2 separate regions of the Homo sapiens genome follow, and region 1 is linked to region 2. The links are contacts of gene promoters, found by promoter capture Hi-C in human tissues and cell types (Jung and others, 2019). All regions are on one chromosome and are shown on one strand. The core of a region is centred on a gene start or on the middle of the fragment in contact, and the rest is flanking DNA. Distances in the headings are between cores, read along the strand shown.

What was found. The method cuts DNA at HindIII sites, captures the fragments that hold promoters and counts their contacts. A contact is called where the count stands out against the background at its distance.
Region 1: a contact is called between a fragment that was not itself captured here and the fragment with the promoter of PRICKLE4 in region 2, in 1 of the 25 tissues and cell types used here (lymphoblastoid cells).

The regions. Positions count from the first base shown.
Region 1 is chr6:41,586,879-41,590,969 of GRCh38, reverse strand. It overlaps FOXP4 (forkhead box P4), which reads right to left. Exons shown (of 17, transcript NM_001012426.2): 6 at 3,814-3,961; 7 at 3,458-3,671; 8 at 3,073-3,177; 9 at 2,239-2,326; 10 at 1,116-1,199; 11 at 800-1,007; 12 at 623-699. Among named protein-coding and RNA genes, the nearest start is that of MIR4641, 9.8 kb to the left of the region's middle. The HindIII fragment of the contact is 5,524 bases long and covers 1-4,091 here.
Region 2 is chr6:41,778,603-41,782,528 of GRCh38, reverse strand. PRICKLE4 (prickle planar cell polarity protein 4) reads right to left here and starts at 1,747. Exons shown (of 8, transcript NM_013397.6): 1 at 1,703-1,747; 2 at 1,009-1,179. FRS3 (fibroblast growth factor receptor substrate 3) reads left to right here and starts at 2,629. Exons shown (of 7, transcript NM_006653.5): 1 at 2,629-2,713. RefSeq lists silencers at 1,964-2,033, 2,314-2,723, 2,754-2,903. The HindIII fragment of the contact is 3,550 bases long and covers 611-3,926 here.

The DNA of each region.
Region 1 (4,091 bases), core at 473-2,972, 190 kb after region 2:
ATTGGAGCTGCTTCTGGAGAGAAAATGCCTTTAGTACCTGGCCCTGCACCGAGGGTGAAAGCAGTCAGTCCTGTCTTTCTTGGGAGAGATGTCCACGGGGTGGAGGCTGTTTGGAATTTATCCTGATTTTGGCAAAAGGTACCCTAAGCACAGTGTGTGTGTGACAGAAAGAATGTGTGTGAAGGTGTACATGCCTGTGTGGGTATCAGGGAGGACATATGTGTCGATGTAAGTTCATGCTTGAGTGTGAATACTATGTGAACATTGGTGACATGAAGATCATGGGCTTGAGGGAGGAAAGACAAAGGAGAGAGACGAAGAGTGACCCTGAGTCTATCATGGCGGGCTGTGTACGTGGAAATGAGCACATGAATGCCACGGTGGGTGTCAGTAAGAAGAACAGTGTGTGCACCCCCAGAGACACATAACCCTATGCAGCAGGCTGACAGGGCCCAGCCTGCAGGAGAGCCCCGCACAGCAGAGAGGGAAGACCGCCACGTGAGAGGGAGCGGGACAGCTCCATTGCTTGGCCCCAGGACCTTCCTGGAGGCAGGGGTGTGGCGGGGGCTGGGGGAGCAGCCTGTGTGCCATTCCCCACCCTCCTCCTACCTGCCCTGCTCACCTGGCGGATGAGGGAGGCGTAGGTGAAGGGGGGCCGGACGTCGGCGTTCTTGTAGAACTCATGATTCTGGGCCAGCTCTGGGGAGACAGGCAGAGGATGAGGTAGCCAGATATGGGGCTCAGATGGGAAAAACAGCCTCACGCTGCTGTCGCCCTGCAGCCCCCAGCCCACCCTCACCTGAGGAGATGGGGGAGCAGAACTTGTCACTGCTTCTCCGACGGGCTGGGCCCCCACCATGCAGGGAGGCAGAGCCCAGGCCAGGGGGCCGTAGAGGGGTGACAGGGGCTGCGGCCGAGGTCGGGGGGTGCACGAGACCATCTGGGAATGAGTCTGCTGCAGAGACGGTCACCTTGGAGAATGAGGAGGAGCCGGGGACCGGGTTCAGCTGTGAGCAACGGGGAGGGTACTGAGACCAGTGCCCGAGGGTGGGGGTCCCGAGGCTCCAGGGTCTGTGGAAGGCTCTGGGAGGGGCGGGGAGGGGAGCAGCACTCACTGGCTGGCTGAAGGGCTTGGGCTCCGAGGGCCGCATGTGCAGGTGGGCCATCATGGCCTGCAGCCGCTCGCTCTCCTTGGCGAGCTGTGGAGGGTGGCAAAGCAGGAGGTGAGCGGGAGGCTGAACCCTGGAGGCAGTGTTGTCCCACCCCTCCACCGCCAGGCTCTTCAGAAGGCCGCCGATTCCCACCCCCATTCGCCTCCTTGCCTCAGCATCCATGCTCCCTCTGTGACCCGCTCCAGGGAGGCCTCAGCAATGCTCTACCCCTCAAGGGCTGCCAGCTCCATGAAGCCTCTCCCTTTCTCCCCTGGATGGTGACCATTTGAGCCCTCCCAGTGCGTCCTGGCTGGAGCTTATCCCTGCCTCTACATGTTGGGAGGCTTCTTCCTACCCACCCACGGGGGGGCGGCCACTGTGCCTTGTGCAGTGGCACTTGTGTGTGAGGGCCTTGCATACTGAATGCAGATGCAGGAACTGATGAATGGCTCAGACACCCCATTCATAAACTCAATGGGTCTCTCATGACCACCCTCTCACAGCAGGATGCTCTGCTAGGTGCTGGAGGGAGATGGGTAAGCACAGAGGAGCTGCCCTGAGTTGCTTCCTGGGAACCCTGTGCTGCTGAGTGTCCCCTCTCAAGTAGCTGGGATACTCCCTTGGGAAAGCCAGGCTGCCTGGGTTCTAATCCCAGCTCTGCCACTCACAGGCAAGTTACTTTAGCTCTGTGTGCCTGTTTTCTCCATCTGGAAAATGGGGAGAATAATGGTACCCACCACATAAGGTTGTTGAGAGGATTCCTTGAGCTATATAAAGTATTTAGCACAGCACAAAGTAAGTGCTCCATATGTTAGCTGCTAATAATTATTTTTGATGTTTCTATGTAGCGTGAGTCTCTTCTGGACCTCCCAGCAGAGACGCCCCCAACCTTGGTTTACCCCTCAGAATCCAGCTGTCCTCACCTCACAACCATGGTCATTAGGACCTAGAAAGCATAAGATGGTGGCTTTGACCATAGGACCCTTCCATGAGACCCTCCCAACAGAGCCCACCTAGCAAGTCAGTGCTGTGGGTGGGCAGGGGCTGGAGCCCACCATGTCCCTCCCCAGCATCTTCCGGGCCACACCTGGATCTCCAGCTGCTGCACCACCTGCATCTGTACCCGGCACTGGGCTGTACTCCGGTCATCCAGGGCGTGCTCTGTGTTGAGGTGTCTTCAAGGGGAAGAGAGGAGGAGAGAAAGTTGGCTCCGGTTTCCCTGCTGCCACCATCCTCCCATCCTATCCTCTAATCCCACCCATGGCCTGAAAAGCAGACAGACCAAGAGATACAAAGAAGAGAAAGAGGTGGAAAAACGGGGCAATGGAGGAAGGCTTCTCCCTTCTCGTCAGCCTCCTTTGATGTCTTTGCTAAAATCCCAGCTACAGAGAGATCTAATTGCAAATGAACTAATTAAGTAAACCTCTGACGAAGCGTGAAAACAATTTGTTTGACCCTGATGCTGCAAGGGTCTGGGAGACAGCGGAGTTAATCAGTCAGTGACAGAGCCTGGCACGGCTGTGGCAGCTGGCCGCCTGCTGCCAGCCGCCCGTCCACCTCCCGCCCTGCCTGTCTGCGGCCCTCAGCCTGTCACTCGCCATCACTCCCCGGGGCTGAGGCTGGAGGGGAGCAGGGGAGGGTGGGGGGAGGAGTAATGCTTATGTTTGTCCTCTCCTTCTCCTACCCGCACCCTGCGCTGGGGATGGAGTCAGGGGAATGCAGGCCCAGAAATATAGACAGGGTAGGGAGTGGGTGATCAGGGAGTCCGTGGGGGGCAGAGAAAGAACTAGAACCCTCTGGAGTGAGGACAGTAGTACAGCTAGTGAGGAGGGCTCCCAGAAGGGGCAAGCTAGTGGGCAGGGTTGGGGGAGAGGCCCTGTGGGGAAAGGCTGCTGGGGGAGGGGCTGGGGGTGACACCTACTTGATAAACTGGCCCAGGTCTTCACACAGGGTCTCACAGCCTGGCCACTTGCACTCTCCGTGTCCGTACAGGGGGTGGGAGCCGGGGGTCTCCTCGTGGGAAGAGCTGGGAGGACAGCAGGGAGGTGGCCGATCAGGGACCCTGAAGACCCCAGCGGCCCTGTAGTCAGCTGAGCACCAGCTCCCCTGCTGGTGACATTTCTGCCCCAATACAGGTTTCCCAGCGGCCAAGCACCATCTGTACACCCCGGGAGAGGGAGTGGAGAGGGAGTGAACCTCCGGTCCGTGGGCTCCACCCCCTCCCTCACAGTCAGCCCTCATGGGTGGGGGGCCAGGTCTACCCCCAGGCAGGCCTTTGATGCCCCTCCCAGCCTGGACCCCTGTACCTGTCTCTCCGAGATGTGAGCACAGTAGGCTGTCCGTTGGGCAGGGTATGGTGGGAGAGGGGGGGTGAGACCTTGGGGGGAGCGGCAAACGAGGTAGCGGTGGCGGCCGTGCCAGTGAGGTCCAGCCCCTCCTGCTTGACGCTGTCCTCGGCAGGCTGCCCGGGGGCACCCTCGCCCTTCCACAGCTGGGGCAGGTCTGTTGGGCAAACAGCTGCTGTGGGAGAGACAGGGGAGGCTGGCAGGGCCCCACGAACACTCGGCTTTCTACCTGGCCCCAAGAACAGGGGCTGCCAGCTGTTGCGTACAGGCAGGGCTGTGGGGTTGGGGCTGGGAGGGGAGGAGTGGCGGGTGCTCACCTTGCGGAAGGGTCTGGAGGGGCCCCGAGGCTTGGTTGGGCTGCAGGCTGACCAGCCCCTGCCTCTGCAGGTTGAGCAGGTGCTGCTGCTGCAACTGTTGCATTTGCAGGAGCTGCTGCTGGAAGGCCAGCTGCTTGTTCCCCAGTGCCTGGTGAGGGGCCCGAGGGGGCGGGCAGAGAGGGGTGCCATCAGCTTCAGGCATGCCATCTGGCCCCCACCCCGCGGCCACCCCCTCCCAGGGCCTGTCAGCCCCTGGAGCTGTCGTTGTGGCGTCTGCA
Region 2 (3,926 bases), core at 498-2,997:
AGTCCCAGCTACTCCGGAGGCTGAGGCAGGAGAATGGTGTGAACCCGGGAGGTGGAGCTTGCAGTGAGCCAAGATCGCGCCACTGCACTCCAGCCTGGGCGACAGAGCAAGACTCCGTCTCAAAAAAAAAAAAAAAAAAAAAGAAGAAGTGACCATTGGCTGGGCACAGTGGCTTATGCCTGTAATCCCAGCACTTTGGGAGGCTGAGGCAGGCAGATCACCTGAGGTCAGTGGTTCGAGACCATCCTGGCCAACATGGGGAAACCCCATCTCTACTACAAATACAAAAATAAGCTGGGCGTGGTAATGTGTGCCTGTAATCCCAGCTACTCCAGAGGCTGAGGCAGGAGAATCGCTCCAACCTACCTGGAAGGCAGAGGTGGCAGTGAGCTGAGATCATGCCACTGCACTCCAGCCTGGGCAACAGAGTGAGACTCCGTCTCAAAAAAAAAAAAAAAAAAGCGACTATTAATGTAGAGAAGAGATGAGCCCCGCCCTCAAGGAGCTCATAGTGGGTAAGACAAAGATGAAACCAGGTAGAATGGGATCAATCAGAGCTCGGGACAGACATACAAAAACCCTGGAGAAAAAAATAACCAGAGCAAACTTTTTAATAATATTTACTCTGTGCCAAGGACTCTTCTAGAATATTACATAATATAGTCCATCCTCACAATAATCTTATGAGGTAATCTCTTTCATTCCACTTGACAGTTGAAACAAGTTAATTAACTTGCCCAAGATCATACCAGAGGCTAAGGGAAGCCTTAGGGGGACCTGGCTTCTGAGAGCTGGGATAGATTCTGAAAGTAGCTGGGCACAGGAGGGTCATCATCAAATCCCTGGCCTCTAAGACTGGGCCAGGGATTCGTACTGGGGTTGAGGTGAGGGTTTGGACTGTAACAGTTAATATTGCTTCCCAGCACTGAACCCTCCTCAGCACCGCCCCTCCACTCCCACTTCAAATGTCCTGTGCCACCCTTCCCTCCTTCCTGGCTTCACACCCACCTGCTTCCTTCCTCTTCTGTCCTTCAGGTCAGGTTTCCTGTGGAAGGTGGCCAGGATGGGCTGTTCACACCAGGAGTAGCCACTAACAGCACTGCCCCTGCTCCAGGCAGCAAGAAAGGAGGGGGCGTCTGGGGCCCCAGGAGGGGACTTGCACCCTCTTCCATTTTGGCTCTAGTTTGCATAGAATTGTCCAACACAGAAACAACACTCAGAAATCAGGCCTCTATTCCTCACCCTTCCAATCTCCCCAAAGGCAGCCAAACTCCACCTCCACCTAGCACTGGAACACCCTTACTAACAGGCCAGCTGGATTCCTTCCATAATTCCCTTCCCCCTCCCACCTCAGATAAGGGACAGAGCTGAACCCCTTGTCTTGCCTCCGTGCAGAGCCTCCGTGCAAGAGGGCTCAGGAGCTGGACATCCCCAACACCCGCTGCCCTGAAGGGCAGAGCCCGAGAGGACTTAGGGCTTGGGGAGGTGGAGGGATGGGAAGATTTCTGGGGACAGTGGGAGGGAGAAGGAAGGGGAGTGCCCAGTCCCGCCAACTGCCCTCTCGATAGATCCCCAGAGTTTTTCTGGAACTTGGCGGGCCCGCCTCCGGGGCTGGGACGCGGTGTTTCCCGAGTCCGCTGGGGTTCCCGGTCTGGCTGCTGGGATTTTAGGGGAGGGGACCAGGACTCCGCTGGGGTCTCACCCTCGCTGTGCGTCGCTGTCCGGGCAGTTCTGGACCGACTCTGCCGTCAGGCCCCTCACCCGGTCCCCACCCCAAGGCTTCAGCGCCCGCCCCCGTCCGCCCCCGCCCGCCCTAATAGCGCGGCCCTTCCTCTCCCACGCCCCAGCGGCCCCCGCCCGCCCCTCCCCGGCTGGTGGAGAGGGGCGGCTCAGGGAGGGGCCTGGAGCTGCAGATTGGGGGGAGGAAAAAAAAAAGGAAAACAAAACCACATTTATGGGATCTCAGGGTGGAAATGTGCGGGCTCCATGGCCTCTGCCATGCAGGTGCAAGGGCTCTCTGGCTCGGACTGCGCCCGGCAGGCATCCAGCAGACGCCGGGAGCCGCGTTTACGCTGGGTTTTCAACCATTCGCTGAATGGAAACGCCTCGCCGGGCCCGCAGCCCTGTCTCTCCGCAGTTCCCAGGTCTCCCCAAACTCTCCCTGTGGTCTCCCAGCCCCGCTCCTCCGCGTGTTTCCCTTCAGTTCTCTCCCCCTTGTCCCCAGTGGTCCCCCTGGCCCCTTCCCCTCCCCTCAACCCTCTTCCAGGTTCCATCGTCTTGCCCTTCTCCTTTCAGGTCCCTTCAGACCCTCTCCCCTTCCCTTCGTTTCTCGCCCAACCCTCCGTCCCCTTTCCGCTCCCCGGACCACCCCCAACTTTGGTGTCCTCAGCCCCGCCTCCGCGCCCCGCCTCCGCCGCAGGCTCCGCCCTGTCCCCTCCGGGCTTGCTCAGCCCCTGGCCAGGAGCGCCCTCTGGCGTCTGCGCATGCTCACTGCTCCCGACTGCAAAGTCCTCCAAAGGGACCTTCTAGGCTGCGTGCCGGTCGCCCCCGCTCGGGTCCGCCAGCCCGCAGCGTCTCGTTGGTGCTGCCGGTGACCTCCGACCCCGCGGCCGCGGGGCGGGGCGGGGCGGGGAGGCCTTAGCTCCGGGCGGGCGGCGGCTGCTGCAGCGGGACCCGGGAGCGGGGCCCGGCGCCGCCCGGGCCGCGGGGCGATGTGAGTCGGGGCGCGGCGGGGCGGGGACGAGGCGGCTTCACCGAGGCCGCGCCGCGCCGCGCCGCGCCGCGCCGCAGTCTCCACTCCCTCCCTAGGAAGCCCCGGGCGGGCGGGCAGGCGGCGGAGCACCGGGGCTGGGGGCGGGGATCCGGGGACAGCGCGCACCCAGACCTCCTCATTCCTTACGGGCATGTAGAAATTCCCCTTGACAGTCCTGTAGCCTGTCCTGCAGCCTCTGGCTCCCCCAACCCACCTCTACCCTCTCCGCCCTGGACACATCATCGCATCTCCTGGAGCCCTCAGAACCCCCTCATTCACTCAACAAATCTCCTGCTATGCCCACGGACCCACCATTTCTCTTGGATGCCCCCAAATGCTTCCACTGCCCGGAAATTCCTAGGATCCCTCATATCCCCATTCTCCTTGCACTATCCAAAATGCCCACATCCAAAATTCTTGCTCATGTTTCCCCAAACGTCCTCATACGTTTTCAGCCCCCACACCCCCCTCTCACTCCTGCCCCTGATCCATACCTATCCCAGACCAGAGGCCTCTCCCCATTTCCACTCAATGCAGTCCCTCCTCAGTGGGCTATCTGATACATCCTGATATCTTAAGGAGAAGAGATGGTGATAGGGAAATTCAGCCCCTCCCCCATCTTGCACCCTAGAGTTCTTCGTTTCAGTGCCCGCGCCGTGCCCCCGTCGGTGGCTCAAGCCCCAGTATTTTCCCAGCAACCTATCTTTAGTCTGTGCACACCTCCCTGAGCCTGCTTCTTCCTTCCAGAAAATAAGCCAGACCAAGGGGATGGGGTCCTTTTACCTGGAAGTTGTCCAAGGATGCAGGGTGCAAGGGGCCCTGGGAAGTGTTTCTCCAGAGCAGGAATGTGGGATGTCCAGGGTCTGCAGAGTCCTGGCTTGTTGACTTGTCTACCTTGGGCTCAGATATCCTGAAATTTTGGCTTACTGTTAACATTTATGTTAAAATTAGGCCTTTCAGAGCTTGGGGAGCAGAAAATCTATCAAGCTTCCAAATGCGAAATTGAAGCAGCCTGTCTTGGAAGATGAACATGTCAATTTTAGTGAAGTTTGTCTTACGTTTTTACCTCTGCAAGTTATTTAAGCTAGAAGCTCCCCAGTTTATAGATGGTTCCCCCAAAAACTAAGGCCTTAGGTGGGAGTTGGGGGGGGCGTTGACTTAAGTCTCCCAGATA